Linked DNA regions of Homo sapiens: region 1 is linked to region 2. Evidence: promoter capture Hi-C in 16 types of primary human blood cells and fetal thymus (Javierre and others, 2016). All regions are on one chromosome and are shown on one strand. The core of a region is centred on a gene start or on the middle of the fragment in contact, and the rest is flanking DNA. Distances in the headings are between cores, read along the strand shown. Region 1 has its middle 63 kb from the start of GBP6. Region 2 holds the start of GBP6 (guanylate binding protein family member 6).

Region 1 (2,700 bases), core at 95-2,594, 63 kb after region 2:
CTAAAAGAGAGATTTGAAAACGTAAGCAGAAGAATCCAAAATGAGATACAGAATCTCCAGAGGACAATGATACAACCAAGGACATGTACCATAAACTAAAGACCAGAGCCTTCCTGTCACCCCTACCCAAGGCATAATTGAAACAATTTTAGAATTTGGAACAAGCGACACTACATTTGATAATAATTAGATCTTGCATCATAACACCAAAATTTATAAAGGCATGCAGTACAATGATCAAAATCATGTTTTTTCCAAAAAAAAAAAGACTGTAAATTGTGCAAAAAAGATGCATTTACCTCTGTACCAACTCAGGAAGGTTCATGAGCTGGTACCACCCAGGAGTTTATTCTTCCAGATGACCAGCAGTAGACAAATGGGTACTGAGCAGAGTCTTAGGTAAAAGTCTTGGGAAATATTTGGGCATTGGTCTGGCCAAGTCTACAATGTCCCAATATCAAGGACAACCACCCTGGCTTCTTAGTGAAGACAATGTACAGTTATCCATTAGATCAGGGCTACACAGTCTATGAGCAATAATGTGATTTGTGGACATTGCCCATGTATTGTCCTCACTGATGATTTCAAGCTAAAGCAAACCACCTTATACAGAGATCTAGAATCCCTTTATGTTCTCCAGAGGTAGGTGGAAGAAACCATGAGCAGGAGCAGGAATTGAGTGATAAACAAATGGGCTAAAGAAGAAAACTTTTCTTCTTGTTCAGTTCATCCAGATTATAACTTTAATGGGACACTTTAGACCATTAGACAGTTGACACTGGATTAAACAAAGTCACATAATGCCAATTACACACTGTATTTATGGCAATGTATAATTTGCAAAGATTGACTTTAAAAGATGCTGTGTAACAGAATTGAATTAATTCAATTACTTATTATTTAGAATGCTAAAGCTTATGCTAGTCTTTTCTAATTCTTAACACTCATACTTGAAATCTTGCTGAGTTTCCCCAGAAGAGAATATCGGATGTTTTTTGACATTTTTGACCCATTTAATAATGTTCTTGTGTTTACTTAGTATACATAGACTTTATCTCATGTGTCAAAAGTCCTAGGAAAGTGGTTGATGTTTCTTATAGCAATTAAAAATTATTTCTGAACTGTAAATACAATGTATTTCACTAGGCTTCTTATTTCTGATTAAGTTTTCTTTTTGCAGTTATTTTTGTCAGAAAAGAAGGTTTTAGTCTTTATAGCAATGGTTGGCAATCTTTTCTGAAAATACCAGATAGTAACTATTTATGACTTCGCAGGTCATACAGTCTGTCTCAAGTACTCAGCTCTGCATGTAGTGCAAATGCAGCCATAGAAAATACATAAACCAATAGGTGTGGCTATGTTCCAATCAATTTTTATTTTCAATAACAGGGTGGCACCCATAAGCCATAGTTTGCAGAACTCTGATTTACAGACACATTGGTCAAAGTTTTATATACCGGCCTTGTGTAACTCACACGTACAAAAATCATATGGATTAGATTATATATATTAGAATCTTGAAAAAACTATGTGGTTATTCAAAATAACACAGTGAGAAAAAAGGAGGGAAGCAGTTAATGCCATTAAATCCACATTAATAATTCTGTCTTTTCTAATTGCTTTGAGGCCTTTTATTACCTTGAGCTACCTCTGATCCAATCACATGGCAAATGCCTCCTTTCATAATAGAGCATGGTGCTGTTTCCTCACTTGAACTGAAACTTCATAGAAGACCAGGTGAGACCACAGAATACTAGATGAAATGTTCATGTAGGTAAGCTTTATATTTTCTTCCAAGCTCCATTGCTACAAAGGTGTAAATAAAATACATTTTTATGAGTTGAAGTAACTTCATGGTAGAAAATAATAACTCTGCCTTCAAAAGCAAATAATGGTTTCTTTGTTAACCAATAAAGCATAAGAAAATGAAAAATCAGCAAAACTGAGTTACTTCCTCCCCAGTTTGGTAGCATTAATATTTAGACCACATTCCAAAGCATCTGACTTGGTTTAGTACTTTTCTCTAGCATATGCCAGAATAGAATCAAGCTCTCTCCAGGGAGGCATGTTGCTTTCCTGCCCTTAGACCCTCCAATGGTGTGCAAGTGTGCAGGCTATGGTGAGTGGGGCCAGGAAATCACCAGGCCCCTGGATGGCATGCTTGGGTCCCAGTGGCAGGTGACCTGGGCCTGCTGTCAGACTTCCTGATGTTGCATGCACATGCCCACAGCTACAGTTGAGGCAGCATGATCCCCAGGCCCTGGGCAGCATGTTTGCATGGTGGGTGGTGTGAGAGCCTGTCCTCAGGACACAGAACAGTGTCTGGGTAGACCAGCTCCAGGACCATTGGAGGCACATGCAGATGCTTGGTGGCCCTGCTTCCGGTGGAAGGTTGAGAGGGTTGCTGTTGGTGGCAGTGGCCCCAGGCAAGTGGCTTTCAGAAACTGAGGAGTGTGCATTTAGGCTCCCTTTGTCCTGGGGGCAGCCTCCCTGGTGTGGTGCACTGCTGTTCCTTACTGCACCACTGGATTCAGCCCACGGGACAAAGTTGCAGCCCTCTGGGTGGAAATGAAGAGATGTCCGCAGGGTTCCAGGGACGTGGAGATGATGGGGCTGTTCGCCCCAGAGCAAGATACAGTCTGATGGGGGCTGGGCTTTCAAAATAGTGCTGCACGGCAGCTCCTTGAGTCTTGGGAGTGT
Region 2 (2,700 bases), core at 111-2,610:
CACCACACCCGGCTAATTTTTTTGTATTTCTAGTAGAGAGAGACAGGGTTTCCCCCTGTTAGCCAGGATGGTCTTGATCTCCTGACCTCGTGATCCGCCCGCCTCGGCCTCCCAAAGTGCTGGGATTACAGGAGTGAGCCACCGCACCTGGCCCAGAATTTTACATTTTTAACACAAGTCTTTGTCTGAATAGAGTATTCAGATTAGTCTACCACACTCCCCAAATCCTCAGCCTAAGTTATTGCCAAAACTCATGTCTGCTCATTCTGCCACTTGCTTCTGTTCTCAAATCCATTTAGCAGTGCAGCCATGGTAGACAGTCCCAGCATGCTGCTATGTCCTCTGTAGAGAGTCTTTCTCCTTTTCTCACTCAGATGTTTCTCCAAGCTGTGAAAGGGTGTCTATTTTGCCCAAGGGCAGCTTGTGAATTCAAAATAGTTAAAGTCCCTGGGGATAAGACTCAACCAATGGAAACTGTGGGTTGTTGGATAAATAGTCCACATCAAGGGTCCCAAACCCCCAGAGCATGGTCTGTTAGAAACTGGGCCACACAGGAGGTGAGTAGGGAGAGAGCACTAAGGCCTGAGACCTGCCTCCTGTCAGATCAGCAGCAGCATTAGATTCTCATAGGAGCTTGTACACTGTTATGCACTGCACATTCCACCTTCTATGTCCATGTATGCAGATTTTTTAGCTTCCACTTATGAGTAAGAATGTGGTATTTGACTTTCGGTTTCTGAGTTGTTTCACCTAAGATAATGAACTCCAGTTCCATCCATGTTGCTGTAAAAGACATGGTTCATTCTTTTTTTAAACCAGTAATATCTTTAGCTCTCTCTCTTTCTCTCTCTCTCTTCTGTGTGTGTGTGTGCATGTGTGAACACATTTAAAATATCAAAAGTTCTTCACTAACAAAAGACCCCAGAACTCAAGAATTCCCACTAAGAGAAAAATGCTTAAAATATTCTTGGTTTCTAAGGCTTTGCTTATGTGACTACTGTAGATTTCCTGTTTTTCTTGTGTGCCTAGGAAACTAAAGCCACCTGGGAACGGTATCAAGAAGAAAGCCTGTGAAGCCTTCTAAGATGGGAAAGACAAAAGAAAGCTGGCAGGATTGTGCTTGCTAAGGTGTGACTGTGCAGTATCTGTGGCTTTTTCTGACCTCCTCCCACCCCTGCACCCAACACCCATCCTCAAACTCACATCGGATGATTCAGGCATGGCTCTGCTAACACTTTATTAAAAGCATGGATTAATTTTACTTCCAAGTTTATTTTTACTGCACCATCCCATTTGTGGAAACAACTAGCTTACTCAGCTTTTTTTTCCTTTTATAAAGGAAAGAACAGAAAAGTAAAAGGAGGAAAGAAAACAAGAGGTGAGTGAGGCAACTGAAAACTGTTCTTGGACCTGCGGTGCTATAGAGCAGGTATGTTCACTTTCTTTTAAATGCAACTTAGTTCCTAACTCAAGACTTGGTTTCTGATTCAGAGTGGTAACTGAGGAATGGGCAGGAAGGGCAGGGTGCCTGCTGCCTGGCCTGCAGGAGTCTGTGGCTGGCTTTAGTTCTGGGGAAGCTCAGCTTCTCCACTTGAACCAGTGACAGCCGGGCACGCCGCGTCCCCCTGGATGTGCTGTTCCCTGATCATCAACTCAGGACAGCAGTGAGTGGCCTGGAATGAGCCCTGGTGGGCGCCTGCCTGGCTATCTCTCTCAGGTCCTGCGGCAAGCCCCAGAATGCAGAGAACAAGGAGCTTCCAGGCAATTATACCGGAAGGGAGAGTTTCTTGTCTATCTTTCTAGTGGTCACACTTAGGAAAGCTTCAGAATAAGAGCTCTATAAATCTCTATGTAGAAATAAACTTAGGCCCCACATCACTGGTCTTTATTACTTAAAAATAATTATATAGTCCAAACTCTGTGTGTGCGTGTGTGTGTGTGTGTGTGTATGTGTGTGTGGGGAGGGGGTGGGGGAGGAGGGGGGTGTTAGTTTCCCATAGGAACATCAGAGTCTCTTGTAGCTCTTGCTAAACAGATGGATACTTAGGCCTGGGAATCTGGGTTTGAACAATCCTCTCAGTTGATTCTTTAAAAAAAAAAAAGATGAAGAATAGACACTATGTTTAAAATAAAAAAGATTTTTTTAAAAACCACCATGTCCCATGGTGGTTTGCTGCACCTATCAATCCGTCATCTAGGTTTTAAGCCCCGCATGCATTAGGTATTTGTCCTAATGCTCTCCCTCCCCTTGCCCTCCACCCACTGACAGGCCCCAGTGTGTGAGTTTCCCACCCCCACCCCCAGCGCCAACCCCCCGCCGCCCGTGTCCACATGTTCTCATTGTTCAACTCCCACTTACCAGTTAGAACACGCAGTTTTTGGTTTTCTGTTCCTGTGTTAGTTTGCTGAGAATGGGATCTAATTAAAGAGCTTCTGCACAGCAAAAGAAACTATCATCAGAGTGATCAGGTGATTCTTATGTACATCAGAGTGTGAAAACCAGTCCTGAATAGGATTGAACAGCTGTATTTCATTTAGTAGAAGTTAAAAGGTCTGTGGTTCCCACACAGCTAAGAAACCAGAGACCTGGTTTATATAAAGTTGTTTGCAGGAGCAGCCACATCTTCCTAGAGCTGCCTTTATTGTTCACTTTAAAGAAGGGACTGTACAGTTGCAGTCACTGTAATGTGATGAACACGT

What was found. Contacts are between HindIII fragments. The CHiCAGO score rates a contact against its expected background, and 5 or more counts as called.
Region 1: a contact is called between a fragment that was not itself captured here and the fragment with the promoter of GBP6 in region 2, in 1 of 17 cell types (activated CD4 T cells). The highest score is 5.4, in activated CD4 T cells.

What each region holds. Positions count from the first base shown.
Region 1 is chr1:89,426,145-89,428,844 of GRCh38, forward strand. No RefSeq gene overlaps it. Among named protein-coding and RNA genes, the nearest start is that of GBP6, 63 kb to the left of the region's middle. The HindIII fragment of the contact is 865 bases long and covers 913-1,777 here.
Region 2 is chr1:89,362,699-89,365,398 of GRCh38, forward strand. GBP6 (guanylate binding protein family member 6) reads left to right here and starts at 1,361. Exons shown (of 11, transcript NM_198460.3): 1 at 1,361-1,429. The HindIII fragment of the contact is 2,752 bases long and covers 1-1,819 here.